6 separate regions of the Homo sapiens genome follow, and regions 2, 3, 4, 5 and 6 are each linked to region 1. The links are contacts of gene promoters, found by promoter capture Hi-C in human tissues and cell types (Jung and others, 2019). All regions are on one chromosome and are shown on one strand. The core of a region is centred on a gene start or on the middle of the fragment in contact, and the rest is flanking DNA. Distances in the headings are between cores, read along the strand shown.

Evidence for each region. Contacts are between HindIII fragments. The study calls those that stand out against the background at their distance.
Region 2: a contact is called between a fragment that was not itself captured here and the fragment with the promoter of NCKIPSD in region 1, in 1 of the 25 tissues and cell types used here (thymus).
Region 3: the fragment with the promoter of DALRD3 here is called in contact with the fragment with the promoter of NCKIPSD in region 1 in 1 of the 25 tissues and cell types used here (dorsolateral prefrontal cortex).
Region 4: a contact is called between the fragment with the promoter of FBXW12 here and the fragment with the promoter of NCKIPSD in region 1, in 1 of the 25 tissues and cell types used here (spleen).
Region 5: a contact is called between a fragment that was not itself captured here and the fragment with the promoter of NCKIPSD in region 1, in 3 of the 25 tissues and cell types used here (bladder, dorsolateral prefrontal cortex and mesendoderm cells).
Region 6: a fragment that was not itself captured here is called in contact with the fragment with the promoter of NCKIPSD in region 1 in 1 of the 25 tissues and cell types used here (H1 embryonic stem cells).

Annotation. Positions count from the first base shown.
Region 1 is chr3:48,683,364-48,687,853 of GRCh38, reverse strand. It overlaps NCKIPSD (NCK interacting protein with SH3 domain), which reads left to right and starts at 1,939. Exons shown (of 13, transcript NM_016453.4): 1 at 1,939-2,217. The coding sequence starts at 2,047. RefSeq lists enhancers at 1-49, 1,432-1,501, 1,096-1,827 and silencers at 2,024-2,318, 1,712-2,431. The HindIII fragment of the contact is 9,717 bases long and covers 1-3,405 here.
Region 2 is chr3:48,250,119-48,254,608 of GRCh38, reverse strand. All of the region lies in intron 2 of ZNF589 (zinc finger protein 589), which reads right to left. Among named protein-coding and RNA genes, the nearest start is that of ZNF589, 11 kb to the right of the region's middle. The HindIII fragment of the contact is 4,886 bases long and covers 144-4,490 here.
Region 3 is chr3:49,016,166-49,020,655 of GRCh38, reverse strand. It overlaps DALRD3 (DALR anticodon binding domain containing 3), which reads left to right and starts at 2,076. Exons shown (of 12, transcript NM_001009996.3): 1 at 2,076-2,256; 2 at 2,338-2,633; 3 at 2,787-3,043; 4 at 3,143-3,222; 5 at 3,300-3,428; 6 at 3,809-3,882; 7 at 3,983-4,044; 8 at 4,145-4,227; 9 at 4,316-4,490. The coding sequence starts at 2,092. It overlaps MIR425 (microRNA 425), which reads left to right and starts at 422; the gene lies at 422-508. It overlaps MIR191 (microRNA 191), which reads left to right; the gene lies at 1-38. It also overlaps a transcript of NDUFAF3 not described here. RefSeq lists a silencer at 2,846-3,080 and enhancers at 2,529-3,300, 3,586-3,655. The HindIII fragment of the contact is 18,150 bases long and covers 1-4,490 here.
Region 4 is chr3:48,368,979-48,373,468 of GRCh38, reverse strand. FBXW12 (F-box and WD repeat domain containing 12) reads right to left here and starts at 1,250. Exons shown (of 11, transcript NM_207102.2): 1 at 1,149-1,250; 2 at 612-785; 3 at 124-161. The coding sequence starts at 701. The HindIII fragment of the contact is 16,322 bases long and covers 1-4,490 here.
Region 5 is chr3:48,998,794-49,003,283 of GRCh38, reverse strand. It overlaps P4HTM (prolyl 4-hydroxylase, transmembrane), which reads right to left. Exons shown (of 9, transcript NM_177939.3): 3 at 1,656-1,846; 4 at 688-784. It overlaps LOC124906235 (a long non-coding RNA gene), which reads right to left. Exons shown (of 2, transcript XR_007095904.1): 2 at 3,501-4,368. Among named protein-coding and RNA genes, the nearest start is that of WDR6, 6.4 kb to the left of the region's middle. The HindIII fragment of the contact is 8,927 bases long and covers 1-4,490 here.
Region 6 is chr3:48,972,525-48,977,014 of GRCh38, reverse strand. ARIH2 (ariadne RBR E3 ubiquitin protein ligase 2) reads right to left here. Exons shown (of 16, transcript NM_006321.4): 9 at 3,199-3,316; 10 at 2,148-2,198; 11 at 2,036-2,057. Among named protein-coding and RNA genes, the nearest start is that of P4HTM, 15 kb to the left of the region's middle. The HindIII fragment of the contact is 5,340 bases long and covers 1-4,490 here.

The DNA of each region.
Region 1 (4,490 bases), core at 690-3,189:
ACAGTCTCCAACCCAGCATCCTGAAGGTTACCCAGAAAGGATCCCCAAGTTACATACCTTCTGGCGTCTGTGCTGGCTAAGTGTCTCAGCACCTCTATCCAAAAACCACATGACGCTTGACACAGGTCTTCTCATGGGCCGTATGCAGCTTAAGCCAATTAGATAGCAGGTGATCCAAACCTTGGGTCCAGCTTTTAATCCCTCCTATGCCACTGGCAGCAGCTAATTGGCTGGCTATTGTGATAGATGTCCTGGAAGCAATACTAGGGTCTCTAGCCTCGGGTCTGGTCCATTGGCAGCCATGGACTGTGTTGTAAAGGGGCCCAGGTGATGGAGGGTACCATAAAAAGGCGTGTTTGGGCAGGTAGGGTGGTCCTCTTGGCCACACCACCTGTCACCACTCCTGCCCAGCCCTAGTCCCCATTGCAATTTCACCAGTCTTATTCTTCAGGCAGTCCCAGACAGCACAGACCCCGAGATTCTGCCCTGCCCCAGGAGGGCTTCTGGGAGGAGGAAGGGCCAAGAGAGGTCTTGAACTGAAGAGCCAGACCTGGTGCAGAGAAGGCAGGGTCTGGATGTCAGTTTCTAGCAGTTCTACCCCTCACCTGAACCTCACACTAGGCCTATGTACTTTAGGCCTAAAAATAGGCAACTGGGTCAGACAGACACCCATAATCCCAACACTGGGAGGACTGCTTGAGTCCGGGAATTTGAGACTAGCCAGAGCAACATAGCAAGACCTTGTCTCTACTAAAAAAAAAAAAAAAAAAAAAAAAAAAAAAAGCTGAGTGTGGTGGTGCATGCCTGTAGTCCCAGAGACAGTAGGCTTGAGCCTGGAAGATCAAGGCTGCAATGAGCTTGATCATCCCACTGCACTCCAGCCTGGACGACAGAGCAAGACCCTGTCTCAAAAAATAAATACAGATAAAAATAGAAAACTTGCACACACTGGCCTGTACACGCCTCCTGCTTCCTGGGCTCGGGCTTCCTGTGGAGCGTAGCTGGACCATTCTCAGCCACAGTCTCTCCAGGACCCTGAGGGCCTCTTCCCTGGGTCTTCCAGGCACTCTTATTACACGGATTTCATATATCTGGAGATCTGGGCTGACTGGAAAGCTGGGTGGATCAAATAGGCTCTTAAGGCCACCGTGGTACCCCACTCCCTCTTTCAGCCCTCCTCTATGCTCTCAGAAAGGGGCATCGCAAATCTTAAGTCCTATAAAGACAATAAAACACAGCAAGATGATAGCGATTGATGGGGGTGGGAGCTTGACGGACAAATACTATAGGAGAGGGAAGGGAAAATTGTCCCAGGTAGAGGGAACAGAATATGCAAAGGCCCAATATAGAGAAAACCAGCCATAGCTGAAGAGAGAGGAGGAGTAGGGGTGGGGAGCAAAGATGGGAGGGCTTTAGACAGGGAATAGCCCCGCCTGGTTTCTGCTTTTGTGGCCCCCTTCTCCCCACACTTGCTCCCCACTGGCCACCACCGGCACTCGGTGAAGACAGGTGGTGAGGCCTAGACACACCGAGAGCCGGGCCCCGCGGGGGCTTCCAAGTGTCGGATCAGCAAGATCATCCTTTCGAGGTCGCCGTCCTTGCAATTAGTAGATGGGACCCACTGCCCCAGGGCGGTAGGGGCGCACCCGCTACGAGCGGAGCGCGCTTTCACCGGGAGGTAGGACGGGACGCAGCGCTCGGACTTAAGCGGGGAAAGGGAGCAGAGGGCTGGACGGGTGAAACTGAGGCCGGGGTGAGGAGTGAGGGTGCGGTGTCCGGGGATGAGGGGCCTGGAGCCGGGAGGGACCAGAGGAGACAGCGAGCTGTCGACCCCAGCCCCGCCGCACCTCTTGGGGCCGCGCGGGGGCGCTGCTCTCCGATGCGTGGAACGATACAGCCCGGGGCGGGGCTTCGGCGGGCGGGCGCGCGCGCGCCTGCGTAGTGTGTCACGGGGCGGGACAACCGCGGCGCGGCTCGGCGCTCCCGGCCTGGCGTTGTGGCGCCGCAGCCCTTGCCACCTTCCCTGCACCTGCCCTGCCCGGCCTCATGTACCGCGCGCTGTACGCGTTCCGCTCGGCGGAGCCCAACGCGCTGGCGTTCGCCGCGGGCGAGACCTTCCTGGTGCTAGAGCGAAGCAGCGCGCACTGGTGGCTGGCCGCGCGGGCGCGCAGTGGTGAGACGGGCTACGTGCCGCCAGCCTACCTGCGCCGCCTGCAGGTGAGTGCGCCCCTTCCCGCCCGGCCTCCGCGCCCCTGGGGCAGGACCCCTTCACAGCCCCGCGGAACCGACCCAGGGACCCCACCCTCTCCGGGACCCGAGGCCAGGACCTCTATCAGACAGGGAGTTTGAGAACCTGACCCTGAGACCCCCGGACCCACGGGGACTGAGACCCCAAGTGTCAGCATCACCCACAAAAGACCAGGCCCTTGACAGACCAACTCCCGATCGACCAAAAGCCTAACTCTGGGACTGAGACTCCTCAGGACCCCAGACCCTTCAGTATCGAGTCCGCCATCTGAATGGCGACCCTGAGCCCCACCGAATCCTGGCCAATTATTCAAATCCCTGAGACCCCAGATCCTTAATATGCCCCTTCTCTGGATTCCTAGGACCCCACAACCAACCTCCCTCCCTCCCTCCCTCCCTCCCTCCCTCCCTCCCTTCCTTCTTCCCCCAACCCCGCGCCTTGCCCCCCGTTGGAGCCACCACTGAGACCTGGACCACCTTGGACACCACCTGTTTCCCTAGCCATTCTCCAGGTCCTCAACCCCCCAACTTGGACCCTAGAGCCATAGACACCTCCATCCCCTATGTAACACCCAAGCTTTGGTACTTCAGTGTCTTTCACTAGCCTGTGTTCAGCCACCCTCTAAGCTCTTCTTAAGTCTCTACCAACCTTATTTGAACCAAGGACCCATGCCCCTGCTGACACTGTCTGCTCCACTCCCCAACCCTGACTTCTCAAACTTTCTTGCTTTGAAAATGGGTTCCATCCCTACTTGTTCCCAGCCTGGAGTGGGGACTGCTCACATTGTGATGAAGTGAGTTCTTATAGCTTCTCCTGGTCTGATCGTGGCCCCATTTCCTTCCAGTGGAAGCTGCAGTCCCAGTTCCTGTTTCCCTAAGAGTAGCCCTGCTGCGGGGGTTGGGGTGCGTATCTCCAGCTGGTCTATTCTGACCACAGGGGGAAGAAGGGCCCAGAGCTGCCGGGCCTGTGCCAGACACCCCCGCCCCGTCCTAGTCCTTATCCTTTAGGAAACATCCTGTCCCAGCCCAGTTCAGGACAGAAATAACGGGATAAATTTGGAAGTGTCATCTGGTCTTACCAGGAAGGATGGGCCCTGGGGGCCTAGGGGCTTCCTCATAGACCCTTGGCGTGATCCCATCTAGGAGTGCCAGGGGTGGGAGTGGGGGCCGTGGACACCATGGCTGCTGTGTGTCAGACCCAACCTTTTTGGGAATGGGGTCTCATTGAAGGCCTCTGAGGAAAAGTCCTGTCTCTTCCCCTACTGGGCATAGGTCAAGGGCCTGTGAGTCCCCTGCCGCCAGCCAGGACCAGTGGGGCAAGGTGTTTGGGGAGGGCAGAGAGGCTACCATCTTCTCTGTCACTGTCTGTTTCTTTCTGCGTGTCTCTTTCTGTCTGGATTGCTGCGACTCTGTGCCTCTCTGCCTGTGTCGTTCCGACTCCACATGTGTGTGTTTTTGTTTCTTCCTCCGGCTCCCCCCACACTCTGGCTTTGGCTCTGTTTCTTTCTGCGTTGTTTCCCTCTGTCTGCCTCTCCGTTCCTCTCTGAGCTCCTCTCTTTCCCCATTCCTTTCTTTCTCTCTCTCTCTGTGTGTGTGTGTGTGTGTGTGTGTGTGTGTGTGTGTGTGTCTTCATGTCTTTCTATCCCCCTGTCTCCTCTCCCTGCACTCTGGCACACCTCATACCACCTGGAGGGCTTTGCTGACCTCTGTGCCCACCTGTCTGTGCCCATCAGGGAAGCTTCTCAAACCCATGGTGGAATGAGTTCATCTCAGCTCCGGGACTCCTATGTAGCCTGATGGACTACGTGTGCCAGGGCCAGGGGAGGGCTGGGGGTAGCTGGTTTGATAGCTGCTACCCTACACTCCCCATGTCAGATAGGCAGAGTAGACTGGATCCCTGGAATGTTGGGGATGGCAGTACAGAGCCTGGAACAGGGGCTAGGCCCCTCTCTCATGTTTATCCTTTGCCACAAACACAGAACTGCTTCCCAGGGTGGGTTTGGAAGCTTACTGAGACATCTTGTGGGGATGAGGGCCAGCAGCAGGGTTGGGGAGGGCAAGTCCCTTTGACCCATTCTCAGCTCCCAGGGCTTACAGAGGGCCCTTACAAGGACAGGGCTGTTCTGGGGTATGACCTTGGTTTTGTGAAAGATCAGCAAGATGCAGAGTGATGTATTAAGGATTCCAGATACTGGAGACTTCCTGTTTGGCATCTCAACCTGGGCTCTGAGCCAAGACCAGGG
Region 2 (4,490 bases), core at 1,337-3,836, 430 kb after region 1:
AGACAGTCTATCTTCATGGATAGTTAGACTCAGTATTATGATATCAGCTCTTCCGATCTCAATGTATAGATTCAATGCAAACCCAGTCAAAAACTCAGCAAGCTATTTTGTACCTATCGAGAAACTGATTGTAGAGTTTACATGGAAAGACAAAAGACCTGGAATAGCTAACAAAATACTGAAGAATAAAGTTGAAGGATTCATATTACCCAATTCCAAGACTTATTATAAAGCTACATTTATCAAGACAGTGTGGTATGGGCAAAAACAAAGGCAAGTAGATCAGTGGAACAGAATAGAGTCCAGAAATGACCGACACAAACATCGACTGATTTTTTGTTTAGTTTTTTTTTTGAGACAGAGTTTCACTCGTTGCCCAGGCTGGAGTGCAATGGCACGATCTCAGCTCACCGCAACCTCCACTTCCTGGGTTCAAGCAATTCTCCTGCCTCAGCCTCCCAAGTAGCTGGGATTACAGGCATGAGCCACCACGCCCAGCTTGTTTTGTTTGTTTTTTAAGAGATAAGGTCTCGCTCTGTCACCCAGGCTGGAGTACAGTGGCATAATAATAGCTCAATGTAGCCTTAAACTCCTGAGCTCAAGTGATCCTCCCACGGCAGCCTCCCAAGTAGCTAGGATACAGGTACATGCCACCAATCCCAGCAAATTTCTTAATTTTTTATAGAGATGGGTTCTTGCTGTGTTGCTCAGACTAGTCTTGAACTCCTGGGCTCAAGCAATCCTCTCACTTGAGGAAAACATCAAACAAATCCCAAGTAAGGGACAATCTACAAAATATCTGACTAGCGCCGGGCACGGTGGCTCACGCCTGTAATCCCAGCACTTTGGGAGGCCGAGGTGGGTGGATCACGAGGTCAGGAGATCGAGACCATCCTGGCTAACACGGTGAAACCCCGTCTCTACTAAAAATACAAAAAAAAATTAGCCTAGCGTGGTGGCAGCCGCCTGTAGTCCCAGCTACTCGGGAGGCTGAGACAGGAGAATGGCGTGGACCCGGGAGGCAGAGCTTGCAGCGAGCCGAGATGGTGCCACTGCACTCCAGCCTGGGCGACAGAGCGAGACTCCGTCTCAAAAAAAAAAAAAAAAAAAGAAAAATATGACTAGTACTACCTTGGAGACGTGACAACTAAGTGTAACATGATAACCTGGATGGGATTTTGGGACAGAAAATGGTCATTAAAACTAAAGAAATCTGAATAAAGTTGGACTTTAGTTAATAACCACCATTATTATTGGTTCATTAATACTAACGGTGATGGCCGGGCATGGTGGCCCACACCTGTAGTCCAAGCACTTTGGGAAGCCAAGGCAGGTGGATCACTTGAGGTCAGAAATTTGGGACCAGCCTGGCCAACGTGGCAAAAGCCCATCTACTAAAAATACAAAAAATAGCTATGTGTAGTGGTGCACGCCTGTAATCCCAGCTACTCAGGAGGCTGAGGCAAGAGAATCACTTGAACCTAGGAAGTAGAGGCTGCAGTGAGCTGAGATTGCACCACTGCACTCCAGCCTGGGAAACAGAGGGATCTTCTGTCTCAAAAAATAAAAATAAAAAACGCCCAGATTATTAAGATAAAGATCTACATAAATGAGGAAAAAATTGTCTAAATAAATGGAGAGATACTGCGCTGATGGACCAGAAAACTCAATAATGTTAAGATATTATTCTCATGGCTGGGCGCAGTGGCTCACGCCTGTAATCCCAGCACTCTGGGAGGCGTGTGGATCACGAGGTCAGGAGATTGAGACCATCCTGGATAACATGGTGAAACCCCGTCTCCACTAAAAATATAAAAAATTAGCCGGGCAAGGTGGCAGTGGCCTGTAGTCCCAGCTACTTGGGAGGCTGAGGCAAGAGAATGGCGTGAACCCCAGGGGGCGGAGCCTGCAGTGAGCCGAGATCCTGCCACTGCACTCCAGCCTGGGCGACAGCGAGACTCCGTTTCAAAAAAAAAAAAAAAAAAAAAAAAGATATTATTCTCCCCCAAACTAATATAAAAATTCAAAGCAATTCAATCAAAATCCCATTGTACAAATTGATAAGACTTTCAATTTCAAATTGATAGATTTCAATATTTATATAAAAATGCAAAAGACAGCTGGGCATGGTGGCTCATGCCTGTAATCCCAGCACTTTGGGAGGCCGAGGCGGGTGGATCACAAGGTCAGGAGATCGAGACCATCCTGGCTAACACGGTGAAACCCCATCTCTACTAAAAATACAAAAAATTAGCCGTGCATGGCAGCCTGTGCCTGTAGTTCCAGCTACTAGGGAGGCTGAGGCAGGAGAATCGCTTGAACCCAGGAGGTGGAGGTTGCAGTGAGCCAAGATTATGCCACTGCACTTTAGCCTGGGAGACAGAGCGAGAATCTGTCTCAAAAAAAAAATAATAATAATAATAAAATTTAAGGACTTACACTACCTGATTTTAAGACTCACCATAAAGCTACTACATTAGTGAGGAGCACAATACAAATGTGAGAAGAGTTCAATGGAGCAGAACAGAGCACCGAGAAAACAGACCCACAATTGATTTTTCTTTTTTTTTGAGACAGGGTCTCACTCCATCACCCAGGCTGGAGTGCAGTGGTGTGAACATGGCTCACTGCAGCCTCAACCTCCCAGGCTCAAGAGATCCTCCTACCTCAGCCTCCCACATAGCTGGGACTACAGGTGAGTAACTCCAGCTAATTTTTTTGTACTTTTCGTAAAGATGAGGTTTCGCCACGTTGCCCAGGCTGGTCTCGAACTCCTGGGCTCAAGCGATCCACCTGCCTTGACCTCCCAGAGTGCTAGGATTACAGGTATGAGCCACTGTGCCTGGCCCCACAATTGATTTTTAACAAAAGTATCAAAGGAATTCAATGAAGGAAGGAAAGTCTTTTCAAAAAAACAGTGTTGGAAGAACTGAACGCCCAAATTTAAAAATAAAGAACGCCAATCCCTATCTCATACCACACCAAAAAAAAACTAAAAATCACCGCAACTTAAAGGTGATCTTAAATTAAACAGTTTCTTTTTTTTTTTGAGATGGAGTTTCACTCTGTTGCCCAGGCTGGAGTACATTGGTGCAATCTCAGCTCACTGCAACCTCTGCCTCCCAGGTTCAAGTGATTCTCCTGCCTCAGCCTCCCAAGTAGCTGGGATTACAGGTACGCATCGCCACGCCCAGCTAATTTTTTTTTTTTTTGAGATGGAGTCTTGCTCTGTCACCCAGGCTAGAGTGCAGTGGTGTGATCTCAGCTCACTGCAACCTCCGCCTCCCAGGTTCAAGTGATTCTCCTGTCTCAGCCTCCCGAGTAGCTGGAACTACAGTTGCGTGCTGAGATTTTCCAGCATCACTTCTTTGTATAGGTTCCTCTGCTCAAGGCTCAGTCTCTTCCACTCTGCCTCAATGAAAAGCACAGCCACATCCTCAAAAGTCACTGGTCCCTAAATCAACCGATAAATTCATATTCATCAAGTCACCATTAAGATTCACAGGGAGAATGGAACTGGTGGTCTTGGAGAATCTAGCTACATAAGAAATTGATCTAGGCCGGGCACGGTGGCTCACACCTGCAATCCCAGCACTTTGGGAGGCCGAGGTGGGAGGTTACCTTGAGGTCAGGAACTTGAGACCAGCCTGGCCAACATGGTGAAACCCCGTCTCCACTAAAAACACAAAAATTTCATATTTAAAAAACCATTTTATAGTTTTAACAAACATCATCAAAATTTTAAAACTCTTGCTCATCAAAAGACGTTAAGAAAACGAATAGGCAGGCTCTAGGCTAGAACAAAATATTCACAAAACAAATATAAGACAAAAGACGGGGCAGGTGTGGTGGCTCACGCCTGTAATCCCAGCACTTCGGGAGGCCGAGGAGGGCGGATCACCTGAGGTCAGGAGTTCGAGACCAGCCTGGCCAACACGATGAAACCAAGTCTCTAATAAAAATACAAAAATTAGCCAGGCGTGGTGTCGCATGCTTGTAATCCCAGCTTCTCAGGAGGCTGAAGCAGGAGAATCACTTGAACCCAGGAGACGGAGATTGCAGTGAGCCAAGATCGTATCACTGTACTCCAGCGTGGGCAACAGAGGGAGATTCTGTCTCAAAAAAAAAAAAAGTTGTTCTCAAAGAAGCAGAGAGTAGGCCAAGTGCAATGGATCACACATGTAATCCCAGCACTTTGAGAGTCCAAGAGGGGAGGACTGCTTGAGTCCAGGAGTTTGAGACCAGCCTGGGCAACATAGTGAGACCCGTCTCTATTTAATTAAAAAAAAAAAAAAAAAAAAAGAAAGTAGAGAGTAAAATAGTAGTTACCAGAGGTTGGAGAGGAGAGGGGAGAGGAAAGCAGGAGAGAGATTCGTCAACAGATACAGAACCACATTATACAGGATGAATAAGTTCTGGCATTCTATTGCAAAGTAGGAAGCTTAGAGTTAACAATAATAAATTGTATTTTTTTTTTTTTTGAAATGGAG
Region 3 (4,490 bases), core at 827-3,326, 330 kb before region 1:
CCAGCTGCGCTTGGATTTCGTCCCCTGCTCTCCTGCCTGAGCAGCGCCCTGGCCCAGATGGGGTGCCCCTGACCCCCAGACATACTTTACTGAGCTGCTTGGGTCTCAGTTCCTCTCAGTTGCGCCCTCAGGCTGGAGGTGATGGGTGTAGACGTGGGAGAGCCGAGGCTGGTGGCCATCTCTGGAACCCTGGGGAGGATTGGCGAGGGAGGGTGGACCCAGGACCTCTGGGTAGGGCTGCAATGGTAGTGACTCCCCCAGGGCTGCCTCAGCCCGCATCTCGCTAAAGATAGCCCTCTTACTTCCTGGGGAAAAACCACCCCAACCGTCTTCGTGGATGAGAGTATCTGAAGTCCTCAGTTTGACTGAGGGTTCCCAACCCTGCTAAGCAGTTGTCTCCAGGTCATGCACCTTCAGAATGGAAAGCGCTTTGGAATGACACGATCACTCCCGTTGAGTGGGCACCCGAGAAGCCATCGGGAATGTCGTGTCCGCCCAGTGCTCTTTCGGCGCCTCCCAGCAGGGCCTCAGCCCTGGCCCAGAAAGGGGCCTTGCCAAGCTTTTCCTGCCCCTGGGTTTCCCTGCTCTCCGGATTTCCCAACTCTCTCTACTGAGTTAGCTTCTCTATTAAAAGGAATGGGGGTGGGGTGGGGGGTGAGTAAGTTACAGTGAAATGAAGACATTTGGGAACCTTTGTGGGAGAAAGAAAAAGACCTTTCCTATTGGTAGAGGAGCAAGATACTCCAACTGAGGCCTATTTTCTATTATGGTCGCATTATTTGGTTGGCCCGTAAATGGCTGTTGCCTAAAACAGGAAGCTTTAAGGATCGTTGTTAAAGCACACCAGGTTAAAGGAGTCACATTAAAAGCTGGTCATTCTGAGCCGGGCGCGGTGGCTCACGCCTGTAATCCCAGCACTTTGGGAGGCCGAGGCAGGCGGATCACCTGAGGTCGGGAGTTCGAGGCTTGACAAACATGGAGAAACCCCGTCTCTATTAAAAATACAAAAGTAGCCGGGCGTGGTGGCGCGTGCCTGTAATCCCAGCTACTTGGGAGACTGAGGCAGGATAATCACTTGAACCCGGGAGGGGGAGGTTGCGGTGAGCCAAGATCACACCACTGTACTCCAGCCTGGGCAACAGGAGCGAAACTCCGTCTCAAAAAAAAAAAAAAAAAGTCTGGTAATTCTGGAAGCCATCATGATGGTTGTGATTTCTCAGGTATCAAGAGAAGAAAACCGCCAACTGTATCAGAGTGCTTATTTATTGGGCATAAAGACCACCCGGGCTGGGTGCAGTGGCTGATGCCTGTAATCCCAGCACTTTCGGAGGCCGAGGCGGGCAGGTCACGAGGTCAGGAGTTCGAGACCAGCCTGGCCAACATGGCGAAACCCCGTCTCTACTAAAAATACAAAAATTAGCCGGGCGTGGTGGCGGGCGCCCGTAATCCCAGCTACTCGGGAGGCTGAGGAGGAGAATCCTGTGAATCCGGGAGGTGGAGGCTGCAGTGAGCCGAGATCGTGCCACTGCACTCCAGCCTGGGAGACAAGAGCAAGACTCCGTCTCAAACAAACAAAAAAACACCCATATCTCAAACGAGAAAATGCTTGCAAATAACCTGAAACCGCGGAACACTATTCTTTTTAAAACGAGATATTTTAAGTAGGTCGTGAAAGTGGCCTTAATGTTATACTGCCTTATTCCAGTGACGAATATTCATCATGTGTAAAATGGGAGAAATGAAATGTTATTAAAACAAACATGTGAGACTTCGATGAGAAGAGACGGTACCCGGTCTAAGCGCCCACCGGGTCGCGAGGATCCTTTTCCTGGTTAAGGCCTGGGTCACAGCGAAAGAACCCTAGGCCCAGGGAGGGCCCCGAGATTTCAGATCCGGGGCCCGGCTGTGCAGGTGGACCACGCGGAAGGGGCGCTGGGGGCGGTAGGTCGAAAGCAGCCGACAGGGCTACCACTGGCGCACCTGTCCACTTACGGGGACCACCGCCGCATCCCCGCCCCAGCTAGTCGGTCCTTTCCGGAAGTTCCACCTCCCTAAATTTTTTTCCGGTTCCGCTTACTCCTTCCGGTCACCATGGCGACCAGGCGCCTTGGGGTCGGGGAGACGCTGGGGGCCCTCAACGCGGCCCTGGGGCCAGGCGGTCCGGTGTGGATCAAGGAGACGCGCACCCGCCACCTGCGTTCCCGAGACTTTCTGGCACCGCACCGCGCGCTGCAGGCGCGCTTCGATGACGGCCAGGTGGGCGTGAGCCGGGCGGGGCCGTGCGGCCGGGAGATGGGCCCCGTGCCGTGGCTCTTTTACACGCCCGTTCTCCCGCAGGTTCCGGAGCATTTGCTCCATGCCCTCGCCTGCCTGCAGGGCCCCGGTGTGGCCCCGGTGCTGCGCTGCGCGCCGACCCCCGCGGGTCTGTCTCTCCAACTGCAGCGGTCCGCCGTCTTCGAGCGCGTCCTCAGCGCCGTGGCCGCCTATGCCACGCCCGCCTCGCCTGCCTCGCTGGGCCAGCGCGTCTTACTACACTGCCCAGCACTGCGCAGCTCCCCCTGCGCACTCCGCTTGAGCCAGCTGCGTACGGTGCTCGTGGCCGATCACCTGGCGCGAGCCCTGCGCGCTCACGGGTGAGCGGGGCCGCGGGGCCGGAATGGAGAAAGTGGGACTGCCGGGTACCTAGAAAGCGAGCGGCGCCGCCCGTGGGGACTGCGGCTGGAGGTGGGAAGTCGTGGCGAGCTGGACCAGGTGCTCAGACTGAGGCGGCCGCCCTCCCTTCGCAGGGTGTGCGTGCGCCTAGTGCCAGCTGTGCGGGATCCGCACATGCTGACCTTCCTGCAGCAACTGCGGGTGGACTGGCCCGCTGCCTCGGAGAGAGCTTCCTCCCACACCCTGAGGAGCCACGCCCTTGAAGAACTTACCTCTGCTAATGACGGGAGGACACTGTCCCCTGGCATCCTAGGCAGACTGTGTCTGAAGGAGCTGGTGGAAGAACAGGGCCGCACAGCTGGCTATGACCCCAACCTGGACAACTGTCTGGGTAGGACCTGAAGCCTAGCAGGGCCAGAAAAGGCAGGAGGGGGTTAGGGGCACATCTCTGCTTCTTGTCAGTCTCAGCACCTGTCTGTTCTCTTTTCAGTGACTGAGGATCTCCTCTCTGTGCTGGCTGAGCTGCAAGAGGCTCTATGGCATTGGCCCGAGGACAGCCACCCAGGCCTGGTTAGTGACTCCCAGCCCTGTAGGTTCTCCCAAACCAAGTATACTGTACTTCCACAGTTATGATTGTCCTCCCTTAGGCTGGGGCCTCAGATACTGGTACAGGCGGCTGCCTGGTTGTACATGTTGTTAGCTGTGAGGAGGAGTTCCAGCAACAGAAGTTGGACCTGCTTTGGCAGAAGTTGGTTGACAAGGCTCCACTCAGACAGGTAGGTTAATAATGATGGTGGAGCTCCCCACCACCTAACCCCCAACCTCAGAGGGCCCTTGAAAACCCACCGAGGGGCTTGTTAGCTGACAGAAACCAACACTTGACCTTGGGGGAGTTGCTGGACTTGAGAGGGCATGTACAGCAGGTGCAGAGGCTCTGGGGAAGGGGGGTCTGTAGACACATCCCAAGAACACTGAAGACCAGGTTGAGAAGGATGAACCATGCGTAGCCTGAGTGGCTGGGTAGACGGAGGCACTCAACCTGGCAGTTCCAATTTGAGGGAGTCTGGGCTGAGTAGAGGCACCAGATTTGGGCTCCTCAAGGGACTTCCTGGAGAGTAGCGCCAACTAGGCTGAGCCCCTGACATCTTTCTGACAGAAGCACCTCATCTGTGGCCCTGTGAAAGTAGCTGGTGCACCTGGCACTCTGATGACTGCCCCTGAGTACTACGAGTGAGTGAGGCTGGGAGGAACACCAACCTAAGCCAGGGTAATGAGGGGGGACTCTTTACCCAGGACCCTGCCCACTGGCCTTCCTCTCTTCCAAACACAGGTTCCGGCATACCCAGGTGTGCAAGGCCTCAGCACTGAAGCATGGTGGGGATCTGGCACAAGGTGTGCCTGGGAAACCCTGGCTATGTTCTGGGTTAGGGGCAGGTTTTTTGCATCCCTGCCCTTGCCTGCAGACTGACTGACCAACCCTATACTCCCTCAGACCCAGCCTGGACAGAGATCTTTGGTGTTCTCTCTGTGGCCACCATCAAGTTTGAGATGCTGAGCACAGCCCCACAGAGTCAGGTGAGCCTGGGAGCCTGACAGGGCCAGTGTTGGGGCACAGGGTGTGGTGGCTGCCTTCTCTCTCTGCAGCTGTGCTTCTATTCCCCAGCTCTTCCTGGCTCTGGCTGACAGCAGTATCTCCACGAAGGGCACAAAGAGTGGCACCTTTGTCATGTATAATTGTGCCCGTCTTGCCACACTCTTTGAGAGTTACAAGTGTAGTATGGAACAAGGTCTGTACCCCACTTTTCCTCCTGTGAGCAGTCTGGACTTCTCACTGCTAC
Region 4 (4,490 bases), core at 1-2,500, 310 kb after region 1:
TACTCACACTAACTTTCCTGTGTATATCTCACAACACAGCCACACAGGCCTTGGGACACAGCATGGGTGCGCAGTCAGATGATCTCCTCTCCCCTTCCCTCCTTGCCCTTTCCCTTCCCTTACCTCCACAGGTAATCACTGTCTGCAATCCTATTCCAATGCTATGGGAGAGAAAGGAAGAGACAAGCAGGCAATCAGTTACATCAGAGAGCAAGGGTAATCCTCTGCTATTATTTGTTCTGGGAGCTGGGCCCGCACAGGTTAATCAGATGGGATTCCAGCTCTCAAAGCACTCTCAGTGTGGGGAGATAAGGAAATGGTAACAACAGAGACCTATCACTGCTAATACAGGCACTGGGTATTCCCATGAATTCACAGGAAGAAGTGTTGATTTCCTAGGGCTTGAAATGGGAGCCTCAAGGACTGTTTAGTCAGCACAACTCCTGGATATCAGCTTGTCCTTTTCGTTTAACAGAATATGAGGCCCTCAGTATGAAGAATGCTAACCCCCAAAGCCTCAGTGTAACCCTCTGCTATTCTGCAAAGTGGTGCTCAAACTGGTCGAGAGAAGCAGCGGGCTTGGGGGGCAGTGGGAGGTGGAAGGCCTTTACCTTGTTCACCTGGGAAACCTGCAGCAAGCCGAACAGGTCCAGGAAAGAGAAGATTCGCTTCAAAGCTAAGTCAGGCAATCGGATCTCCATTTCATGCGGCCTGAACCCACATCCACTTTCCTTTCTCCTCTCCGGGCTGCTCTGAATTTATAGGCTTTGCCAAAGTCTGCAGCACTTGTAAAGATTTTCACCCATGCCCATCTGTGTGCGGTAGAAACAAGCTGCAGGTGTGCAGACTCCCGGGCTGACCTCCACCCCGGCCTCTCCCCTGGGGCCTGATCCACACAGCTGGCAGGCATCCCTACCTAAACCCACTTGTTAGTGCTGTTCATTGTTTAGAGGAGCTCAGCAACACCTGTGCGCTGTGAGCTGGAGGTGCAGAACCTGGGGCAGCCCCAGTTGCAGATGAAGTTGTCAGAACCCTTTAGGAAATGTCACCGAGTGCACTCACTTTGATCAGATCTGAGTGTCTCTATGACTCTATTTAAGTTCCAAACTCCTGGAATTGGAGTCTGCTTGCCCTGTGTCTGTGCCTACCTTGGGATCTTGAATCTGGTGAGTGGGGCTCATCTCTCAGCGCCAGCATGGCCTCTGGGTTTCTACCTTCTCGCATTTAACTTTGCAGTGGAGGAGAAAGAACGTGCCAAGCTGGCTTCTCCACAGAGGTCCGCCCAAAGGGAGCAGGCCTTGTCTGGGATGGCTCTCCCAGCTGGTGGCTTTCCCTGGGATGTGACGCTTTCCCACAGTTACAGATCTCCCAAGAACCTGACAACTCATTCTGGGATTTTCTAAAGACCGTGTCATAGCCTGGGTGTTTGTGTCCTCTCAAAATTCCTACGTTGAAATTCTAACCCTTGGTGTGATTGGAGGTGGGGGGCCTTTGGGAGGTAAGTGGGTCACAGGCAGAGTCCTTATGATGGGACCAGTGACCTTATAAAAGAGACCCCAGAACGCTCTCTAGCCCTGTTCATATCATGCGAGGACATGAGAAGGTGTCAGCTGCAACCTGGAAGAAGGCCCACACCAGAACCTGACCGTGCTGACAGGTGACTCTTGGACTTCTCTCCTCCAAAATTGTGAGAAATAAATTTGTTTGTAAGCCACCCAGTCTATGGTACTTTGCTGCAGCATAAGACAGGGGTCCCTCTGTGAGGCTCAGTGGCCAACCCTTCTTAAAACTGCTGCCTCCAGGCAGACACACGGGAGTGGTTGTCGGGAGTCCCATTTATGATACAGTAGTAAGAGAGAGGAAAAATACAAATTGACATGGTGAGGAAATAAAAAGGAAAAGCAAAGACCAAGAAGCACCTAGAGGGGCGTGGGGAAAGGCGAGTCAAGGGGTGTGTGGAGAGGAGTGAGAAAAATACAAGGGTAAAAGATTTGTATTCCATAAATAGGAAATAATGCAGAGAGAGCCAGAGCCGTGGAAGGACACAGGAAGACAGAAAGCTTGGAACGGACTCTATTGTAGAGGAACAGAATTAATGCAAAGATATAGAAGGCTGAGAAATAAAACACTTTAAAATATGACAAGGGAAGAGAAGAAACAGTAAAATAAAGGATATTTTAAAAGTATTAAAGCACAAATATTATAAAATACACAGATAGGAAATATAACTGTAAGTGGACTGAGACAGAGTAGGAATAAAATGGAAAAGAGGACAGATGAGAAAGAGGCAAACATAAGGAAACTGAAGCAAATTGCCGAATGAGTGAATGAATGAATTTGAAATAGAGGAACAGAGGCCAGGCACAGTGGCTCATGCCCGTAATCCCAGCACTTGGGGAGGCCGAGGCGGGTGGATCACCAGGTCAGGAGTTTGAGACCAGCTTGGCCAACATAGTGAAACCCTGTCTCTACTAAAAATACAACAAATTAGCTGGGCGTGGTGGCGGGTGCCTGTAATCCCAGCTACTTGGGAGGCTGAGGCAGGAGAATTGCTTGAAGCTGGGAGGTGGAGGTTGCAGTGAGCTGAGATTGCGCTACTGCACTCCAGCCTGGGCGACAGTGCGAGACTCCATCTCAACAACAACAACAAAAAAAATAGAGGAACAGGAAGGTGTGTTGGGGGGTGGTGGTGGCGGGGTGCTACCAGAAAAGCGGCAGAGAAAGACACATTGCAACAATAGATGAAGACAAATCTAAATGTCACAAGAGTTAAGAGATGTAAAATTTGAGAGATGTGAAATGGTAACTGCGTAATAGTCTAAGCAAAAGATAAGATGCAGGTGAGAGAATGGTCCGGACATTGTCTAGGAGAAAGTAGATTAAAGCAGGCAGCTGGGGAAACCTGAGAAGAGGGATCCATAAGGAGTTGGGCAGCCTGAGAGTAGGACAGAGAGGGAGGGACGACACAGCATGGGAAGTAAAGGGGGCGTAGCAAGGGGAGAAGTAACAGCACACCTTTCATGGCGCCTTCTGCAGGCAAGGCACCCGTCTAAACAATTTACAGGGGCTCATCTATTTAATCCTCACAACGGCTAGATGAGGTAAGTCCTATTACTGGCCACCTTGCCAGGGTGCTCCGTGTTCTCTTAGATTCTGAATTTGTCTGGCATCCATCACAGGGCCAGTTGTATTCTCTGTATATTTTTAATTTTCTGTATTCTTGATGCTCTGGCATTTGTGATCTTGCTGACTGGGGAGAGACTCTCCTTCCCAGGCCTAGCCAGATAGCAAAGGAGAGTGCCTTTTATGCAAACGAACCAAGCTACAGCCCACACCCACAATCATCTCCTTTACCAAACTCTCACACAGCAAGTTAATATTCCTCCTGCCCTAAATCAACCCAGGGCCAGGTACCAGACAACTGGAGACGGCCCCTATGCCTCAAAGCCAGCCAGAACCATTTAAACTAGCCCATTCTAAAAGGCTTACCCTGTTCTGCCCTCTTCGTTTCTTACAGAAAACACAATAAAGGCTCAGGCCTATGCTGCCCCGCCCCTTCTGCCTCCTGACTGCCCTTGGTGCTCTCCATGTGGCCCTGCGTGGGGAGCCAGGCCTCTTGTTTATAGGGATCTGTGAGTATAAACTTCTTCCTTCATGACAATCATTGCTGTGTCTGCACGCTTTGCCACACCTGATTAAAACCAATCCCAGGCACCAGTTTTAGAACACATAGGTGGGAGCCAACACATACAGAGGTTAGGTGACTTGCCCACAGTGACACCCCTGGGAAATGGCACCGGGTTTGAACCCCAGCAGTCAGCCCCAGAGCCAGTGCTCTTAGCTGTTATGCTCTAATGGCTCAAAGAGAAGAGGGAATTGGGAAAACTTGGAATGATTAGGAGAAGAATGAAAGTGGATATATTTTTAGCCTTGAGTTTAAAATGCTAAACAACTGAATAAAACATGGTCCTGTAGTCCCAGCCACTCAGGAGGCTGAAGCATGAGAATTGCTTGAGCCCAGGAGGTGGAGGCTGCACTCCAGCCTGGCAACAGAATAAGACCCTGTCTCAAAAAAAAAAAAAAAAAATACAAAATGTGTTCAAAGAAATGAAGTAAAGAGAATGCTGACTAAATAGGAAAGAACACAGAAGATACATTTTTTTAAAATGGTGACAGAGGGAAACACCAAAGAGAGGAAACATGAAAGAGAGATTTTTAAGAGAAATAAGGAAGGACCACAGAAGTCAGCCTGTTGTCCCTGGCTCAGGCTGGGGGACTCAACTGTCCCCAGTGCAAGCAGGGCATGACTGACTTCTGTCTGGCTCCAGAGATATGGGGCTCAGGTGGGCAATCTGAACCCGCATTGGGGTACAATTATTGTGTCACACCCACTGGCCCTGATACATTCCCTGGAGGGAGTCACTGCAGAGAGTGCAAAAGGGTAACAAATTATGCTTCCACTACAAAGTAGCTTTGGGACACATTTATGG
Region 5 (4,490 bases), core at 834-3,333, 320 kb before region 1:
ACTCTGGTTCACCAGCCGCAAAGCCACTGTTCCAAGTCCTTTCTAACTGCTGTATCTTCCTCTCTTGGTCCAGAATTTGGGCATGAGGGTGATGACCACACCTCAGAAACCTCCTGAGAGTTATTACCAGAGGGGGCACCACTTGCATGACAGCTTCCCTGCCCACCCCTCCCCAGCAGTTAGCACAGGTAGCAGCACTACCATTTTAGGCGCTTCGGCATGACTCCAGGTGGACAAGAGGAAGGCAAGGGAGATCTCACTTAGACCAGGGAAGCTGTCTGCTGGGGTGGACCTCGTGTCTGGCTGGAGAGATGGATGGAGCAGGGTAAACAGCCAAGCTCTAGCTGGCCTCACTGTCGCCTTGCTCCTGCTCCACCCACTCTGTTCTCTGCCAACTAGCAGCCCTACTTCCTGTCCCCAGGCTCTCAACTCTGCCTGATGTTATCAAAAGGGTCTCCAAGAACTGCCCTCGAGACCATCACCAAGGGGAACGGGGGGCCTGGCTGCCTGCCTACTTCCCAGGGGTAAAAAGCAAGGCTGGATCTTCACCTCCCCATCTCTGGCCACTATAAAGGGGTGCAGAGAGGCTGCCTGGCTGTGGGGGAAGGGCCCAAGTTTTCAAAATTGTGCACCTGGGAGTGGGCAGGAGGCTCACGGGGATAGGACTGTGCAGAGGTGTGAGCTCACCGTCACCATCAGGGTCAGCCTTGATCGCGGCGTACATCTCCTGAATGCTCTCTGGAGTCATCCACCATCCATTTCCCAGGCGAGTCTGGGCCAGAACCTAAAGCATAAGAGGGTCCCTCAGTGGGTGACCCCAGTGATGGAGAGCCAGCAGAGAACAGATGGCCCAGTGCTTGTTGTGGAGCAAAGTGTTCAGGTGAGGGCATGGATGAGGACACAGGGCAGAGCCCATTGGGCCAAAGTGAGTGCAGGTAGAAAGGTACAGAGCATCTGAGGAGAAGGCCGGGGGCTGGGGGTCAAGAGGCGTAGGCCATTTGCATTCCCGGACTAAGGCCCCGTGGCCTTCATGGAGAGCACTGTTGGTTGGAAGCAGAGTGAAGGACAGGCCTGTGTCCCACTCAGATACTCCGGGTGAGATGGGGAAAGCCAAGTCCTGGGTGTTAAGGGAGAACAGGCACCAGGGGGAGACCTGGTTAGGGCATGACCACCAGATCCCTCAGAAAGACCAGGCTCAGTGGGGTGTTCTGTGTGGGCAGTGCCCCGCACCACCACCCTGCCAGACTTCTCTCAGAAGCTTGGCCCTCCAGCCTGGCTGTAGAGTGTGTGAGAGTTATGCAGAGAGAGAGGCAGGCTGCTGGCCACCTCAGAGCTGCCACCCCATCCACCATGAGTTCTGTGGGGCCCCCAGCCATGAGAGCAAGGAATGCAGGCTACAGAGGTGCATCCCTCCAAAACTATGGTGATAAATGCCATCACCCCCAGGTGGATTCTCCTGCCATCTTCTGAGGTTCCCAGGGTAGCCAAGAGCTCTCCAGAGGGAAAGGGGACCTCCTGGGTCTGGGCATGCCCAGGCAGGTCTGGGTAGTATCTGACTTTTGGGACCAGGCCTGGGCTGGACAAGTGACCTGGCCACCAGAAAGGTGATTCTGGGCACTCCCACCCTGAGCCTACTCAGGTCCCAGGATTCCAACCTCACGGAGCTGAAGGTGCCCATCACGGTTCTGGTCCAGCAGCCGGAAGAGGTCCAGCTGGCTGACCTGCATAGTGCTCATTGCCTCTTCATACTCTTCAGTAGGCAGGATCTGGCTGCGCTGTAACCCCTTCATCTGCGCCAGATGGATGATGAGCCGACACTCTTCATCAGTCAGGAAGCCGGGGATTTCTGCCAGAAGAGGAGGTGGGTGAGGCCAAGGACTGAGCCAGGGCGCTGGTGCACCCAGTACCTTCCTCCCTTCAGGGTTCCTGGGGTACTGCATGTCCCTCAGTGGCCACCAGGTCTGGAGGATGGAGGATTTTACAGACCCCTTGATTCTGACTTGTCAAGATTGAGTTGTCCTGCAAAGGCTGGCTGGCGTTGGAAATGTGGGACCTCTCTTGATGATGAGAGCACACATTTTCCAGGAGAGCCCTGGGAGGTGAGCCAGAGCTAACCTGGATATGGGCTGACCCATCTTTGGGTTGGGACTGAAGGCTAGAGAGTGATCCTGAAGGGCAGAGGCTTGATTGCTACTTTTTACTGGGTATAAATATTTAAAGTGGGGAGATGGTGGCTGCTTCTTGCTTTCATTTTAACTTTTCAGCATTATTCAAATAAAAACAGCACAAGACATCCAATGTTTCAGGCCAGTCCAAGGGCCTTCCCCTCCAATTTCCTGCAAAGATGGGTGCTGGCCATCTGACCAGGGCTGAGTTGCCCAGTGCTGGAAGATCAGTGAGGGTTACTCAGGTTTTGGGCAGATACTGGTCTCTGAAAAGATGTCCCAGGTGTCCTTTGCTTCCTTGATTCCTTCCCTGGTACAAATGTTCACTTAGTGCCTACTCTATGCCTCTACACCCCTGAGTAAAGATCAGTCAGGCCTGGGGCTTGGCTTCAGTGGCTGGCTGCCTGCACACCAGGCACAGCTGGTAGGTGGCTTGGTGGAGCTAGAACCTGAGCCTCACATCTAGGGAGCCCACATTCTGGTAGCCCCAGACACTTCCAGAGCAGGAGCATGGGCCCTGCTTCCTTCCCTTGTTCCTGGGAGAGCGGTCTTCACTGGAGGACAAGAAGCACGCAGAGGAGCTGACTGGAGGAAGGGCAGCACTGCTACCTGCGGAGTGGCCTGCCGCTTCTCTCAGTTACACTTCCAGCACAAAGTTCCAGTCATTGCCAAGAGGAAGGAAAATGGTCACTCAGCACCAGGGTTGGAGCTTTTTTTATTTTTTTATTTTTTGTAGAGATGGAGTCTCCCTATATTGCCCAGGCTGGTCTCAATTTCCTGGGTTCAAGCTATCCTTCCACCTCGGGCTCAAAAGTGCTGGGATTATAAGCATATGCCACCACACCTGGCCTGGAGTGGTTTTTAATAGTAATTACAGCAGAAAATACTTAGGTAGCACAGACTCTGCCCAAGGCACTGTCCTAAGCACTTCATACACATCAACTCCTTAATCCTTATACTTACCCTAGGAGGCCAGGCCCCATTAATTCAACCTTCCTATCTAAGAGGAAACCCAAGCACAGAGAAATCAGTGCCTTGCCACTGGCCACCCAGCCTGCTGTGTTCCAGAAACCATGCTCATGACCAGATTCAGCTACTAGGAGCAGGTGACCCTGATGTGATAACACTGAGGATAGGACAAAGGCCCCCACTCTTGGCCTGCATGATCCCGTGACCCCAGCAAACCCAGAAAGGGTGTGATCCAAGGGGAGACAGCCCTGTGGAACAATGGATTAGATCAAATTGCAAATCAACAGAGTCACCTCTTGATTGCTTAACACACAAAATTTAAAAAGAAAGAAAAAGGAAGCCAGAAAAAGAAAAGAAAACACAGGCCCAGGTTTCTTCAGTTTATTAGGTGCCAGTAATCTGCAAGCCCAGTGGAGGTGCCTCCAGCCTCTACAGTCCCCTGCTGTGTGCTAATCAAAAACAAACAGCCCAGTCAGCATGTTGGGGCCTCACCAGGTGGGTCCGGGCACCTCGGAGCTGTGCAAACCCCTGCAGGATCTCCTCTGTTGGCTCCCTGGGTGCAGGAACAGCCCTATAAAACCCTCAACCTCAGTTCATTAAGGCCAAGGCACAGAAGGCAGTGATGGAGCAGGGGCTGTGGCTGCTGGTGACACTGGTGATGCTGTGGGATGACAGCAGGGTCAGGGGCTCCCTGGGGCTGCATGAGGTGCATGCCCATTCCCCAAGCCATGGCCCTATGCCACGACATTGGCTACACAGATGCGTCTGCCCAACTTGCTGGACCACATCACAGCAGCTGAGGCCATCCAGCAGTTGGTCAGCTGGCTGCTCCTGCTTGCCTGGGAGTGCCACCCCGATGCCCGCCTCTTCCTCTGCTATTTACCCCTGTATGCCTTGACAGGTAGGACAGGGGCTTCCAGGTGCAGGGCCCTGGAGGGCTCCCTCAGGGCCCTGCTCTGGTGGCTCAGGTCTTCAGTAATCCTTGCTGAGCACCTGAGCACCTATCAGGGCTGGGCGCTGACAGGCACAGAGAGGAAAATGGATCGTTTTGTTAGAGTGTTCCAGACAGAGGGAACCAGGTGCCCTTAGGCAGGAGACCATCAATGGTGGTCAAGGGCTCTTGAATGTCAAGATAGGGCAGGTGGACAAGTCGCTTCAGGCTGGGGGTTGGGGGCAGGCGGGCTGGAACCTCCTCTCCAATGAGGCGTGGAAGCTATGTCTGTCCAAAGAGACCCTGGCAAGAGATGGAGCAGAGGCCCTTCTGGTGGCCTTTTCTCCCAGAGAGTCCAGAGATCCCAAGGCTGTTTCCTCTTCCCCAGCCTAACCTATCCTGTGAACAATGGTTTCTCCCAAGAG
Region 6 (4,490 bases), core at 754-3,253, 290 kb before region 1:
GTTAGCCAGGATGGTCTCGATCTCCTGACCTCATGATCCGCCCACCTCGGCCTCCCAAAGTGCTGGGATTACAGGCGTGAGCCACCGCGCCCAGCCAGTTTTTTTTTTTTTGAGACAGAGTCTCGCTCTATCGCCCAGGCTGGAGTTCAGTGGCACAATCTCGGCTCACTGTGACCTCCACCTCCGGGGTTCAAGTGATTCTCGTGAGATGGCAGTGAACTCTGGGTGTCAAGGGATATGGACACCCAGGGGGCTTCTTAGGCACTAGGAATGTGGTGGGTGCTGGGATGTTTGTCATTATTCTTTAAACTCTGTGTCTTCTGCATTGTTCTAAGTGTATGATACACTTCTCTCTCTGATATATACAAAGAAAAAGAGAGCGAAAGAATGTGGCCCCACAGAAGAAATATGCCACTACCCATGGCCTATCTTCGTTTGGCACTGCAGAGTCAATGTTGCTGTCTAAGATCCTGGCATGACCACTCTGATTGAGAGGGCTCCTGGGGCCGGGAGCGGTGGCTCACACCTGTAATCCCAGCACTTTGGGAGGTCGAGGCAGGCGGATTGCCTGGGGTCAGAAGTTCGAGACCAGCCTGGCCAACATGGTGAAACCGCATCTATACTAAGAATATAAAAATTATCCAGGTGTGGTGGTGGGCGCCTGTAATAGCAGCTACTGGGGAGGCGGAGTGAGAATCGCTTGAACCCAGGAGGTAGATGTTGCATTGAGCCAAGATCACACCATTGCATTCCAGCCTGAGCGACAAGAGCAGAACTCCATCTTTGGAAAAAAAAAAAAAAAAGTACAGGCTCGGTGGCTCATGCCTATAATCCCAGCACTTTAAGAGGCCAAGGTAGGCGGATCACCTGAGGTCAAGAGTTGGACACCAGCCTGGCTAACATGGTTAGACCCCGTCTCTACTAAAAATATAAAAAAGTAGCCAGGTGTGGTGGTGAGTGCCTGTAATCCCAGCTACTCAGGAGGCTGAAGTGGGAGAACTGCTTAAACCCAGGAGGTGGAGGTTGCAGTCAGCCAAGATCACACCACTGCACTCCAGCCTGGGCGACAGACTGAGACTCTGTCTCAAAAAATAAAGAAAAGAGGGTTCCTGGAAATAGCATTTGCATAGGCCCTTACAAAGCAAAATTCTCGGTCGGGCACAGTGGCTCACTCCTGTAATCCCAGCACTTTGGGAGGCCAAGGTAGGGAGATCACCTGAGGTCAGGAGTTCGAGACCAGCCTCGAACATGGCAAACCCCCATCTCTACTAAAAATACAGAAATTAGCCAGACGTGGTGGAAGATGCCTGTAATCCCAGCTATTTGGAAGGCTGAGGCAGGAGAACTGCTTGAACCCAGGAGATGGAGGTTGCAGTGAGCCAAGACTGCGCCACTGCACTCCAGCCTGGGTGACAGAGTGAGACTCCTTCTCCCAAAAAAAAAAAAAAGAAACTGTCAGGGGCTCCTGTTGAGCATCAAAGCAGCTGCGTAGAAGACCCACTTGGACATATTTTCTACTTGAAGGGATTCTGTTTCTTCAGTTGACCTGGCCGGATGGCATACATGGGTTCTAGCTATGTAAATTATTCCTGATGGATGAAGGAGGTCTGAAAGGCTAAATCAAAACCCCCACTAGAAACTTTGTAAAACGGCAAGGGAAAACCATTATTTTACTACTTCTGGTAAAGGTATCTACAACGTAGCACAGATAAGCCCCAAGCTACTTACCTGCCTTGGCAAAAAAATGAAAGCAACACCCTGAAATCATCTTCTTGGATAACTGAGGATCATGAGGTTTATCCCAAACTTGACTTCTGACTATATGTGTTAGCAAGATAGCAGTGGGATTATAAGAGGGACCAAAAAACAGAAAATAAAAATAAAAAGCTACTTTATGCCAGTTACTGTGACTGTTAAGTGACTGAGGTTCTTCTATGTTTTGTCATTTCATGGCAGAAGTACTCACTTAAATAGTAACGGAGACCCAACCACAAGAAAGTGCCACTGGGCCTTACACACCAAGCTTGGAACTCACCGTGTTTACATTTGGAGCATTGCTGTCAGAGGGAAACAGAAGAAAACACGTTAAGGGCACACTGACCAAAGCTTCCATGTCACACATGCAAACTGCAGAGGCTTCTGCTCACCATGTGATTGCAGCCTCCATTCTTCTCAATGCAGATGTTGCACTTGGGACACTGAGGAGACAGAAGGGTGCCATTAGGCTCACACACCACCAGGTTGGTTTTAAGACAAATTACACAAAGCTCCTGGCACCTGTGCCCAGTTGCTCATGGTGTGAGCACTTCTGGGGAGGAGCACCTCACTTAAATGTGGCAGGTCGCTGAGGCTGGAACAGCAATTCAAGGAAATGAGGTCAGCACATTTAGCTTTGAAATGCTTCAAGCACCAGCTGAACCCCACTAAGTCTTCCACCATCTGCCCCTGCCATGAAGCTACTCAGATTAAGCACAAGTTGAATCAGCAGAAAGCCTGCCTTCTTGAGAGGACTGCCAAAGAAGCACAGGAGCTGCCACAATGGATTCAGTCCTGGTCAGCTTGCCTGAACTTCTGCTTCGAGAAGAGGGCAAGGAAACCACATCTAAAGCTCATCTCTCCCATTTGAGAGATGCCAGCAACCTGAGGCAGCAATGAAGACACCAGTCTGATGCTGTGATCTCCCACTGCCGTGAAGTCGACTATGTTTAATAATGTCGTTATCGTAACTGTGCTTGTGAGTGCACTGACTCGGCGAGTGACTGACAAAGGGTACAGTGGCCCCTAGAGCCCACAGGCCATACTTTCCCATGGGAGACTTCAAAATGAGTATCGTGCAGGTCTGGGCTTGCATTACAGCCTTATATGTATCAAGTGTGGCTATTAACCACCTCCCTTTCAGGGCTGTTAAAGGCTGGTAGGCGTTCAATCATAATTAGTTCTCTTCTAATTAGCTCCCCCTTTGGGTCCCCCTTTCCTGGCATTTTGGCATTTCATCATAATAAAGAAAATATGCACCCAATGCATCCTATAATAAACTGCTACGAGCTGCCAACTCTGTGTGAGGGTCCCCAAACCCCCAGTCCTCAGGAAGGGTCCTGGGGCTCTGGGTATTCTGCTCTCAGATGGCAAATCTCCAAGGCAAGGCCCTGGGCAGCACTAAGGAGGGCAAATCCATGAGAGGTAAAATACGGTCCTTACGTCTTTAGTGTGAGCACTAATGTAGTTGGCTGTTTCAGAGTCGTCTGCACACTTCGTGAGCCATTTCCGGATTGTGGCACAGTCTGTGGGTGCGTGATACATCTGACGACACTTGAAACTTAAAATTGGAAAAGAAAAACATTCAAATATTCATTAAGTCAGGGTCCCATGTTCAAAATTTTCCTTTTATCCAAGCCAACAAATCATGAATTAGAGCTTTTTTCTTTTTTTTTTTTTTTTTGAGACAGAGTCTTGCTCTGTCGCCAGGCTGGAGTGTAGTGGCGTGATCTCGGTTCACTGCAAGCTCTGCCTCCCGGGTTCATGCCATTCTCCTGACTCAACCTCCCGAGTAGTTGGGACTACAGGTGCCCGCCACCATGCCCGGCTAATTTTTTGTATTTTTAGTAGAGACGGGGTTTCACCGTGTTAGCCAGGATGGTCTCGATCTCCTGACCTCGTGATCCACCCACCTCGGCCTCCCAAAGTGCTGGGATTACAGGCGTGAGCCACCGCGCCCAGTCTAATTTTTGTATTTTTAGTAGAGATGGGGTTTCACCATGTTGGCCAGGATAGTCTTGATCTCTTGACCTCGAGATCTGCCCGCCTCAGCCTCCCAAAGTGCTGGGATTACAGGCGTGGGCCACTGTGCCCGGCCTAGAGCTTTTCAAATAGGTAAAGTTATCTCTCAAGGCTTGTGGAACCTTTACCTACCCAGAGTTATACTGAAATACTGCATGAATGTCTCTTCAACTTAAGCCTTTGTAAGACATGCTCTAACACGCACAAATAAAATATTTCTGTAGGCCGAGTGCAGTGATTCATGCTTGTAATCCTAGCACTATGGAAGGTTGAGATGGGAGGACTGCTTGAGCCCAGGAGTTTGAAACCAGCCTGGGCAATATGGTGAGATCCCATCTCTACAAAAAATGAAAAAATTAGCCAGGTGTAGTGCTATGTGTCTGTAGTCCCAGCTACTAGAGAGTCTAAGGCAGGAGGATTTGCCTGAGCTCTGGAGGTCAAGGCTGCAGTGAGCTGTGTTCGCATCACTGTACTGCAACGTGGACAACTGAGAGAGACCCTGTTTTTTAAAAAAAGGATTGCTTTAGACCAGGAGTTTGAGACCAACCAACCTAGGCAACATAGGAAGACCCTGTCTCTACAATTTTTTTTCTGAAATGGAGTTTCGCTCTTGTCACCCAGGCTGGAGTGCAATGGCATGATCTTGGCTCACTGCAGCCTCTGCCTCCCTGGTTCAAGTGATTTTCCTGCCTCAGCCTCCTGACTAGCTGAGA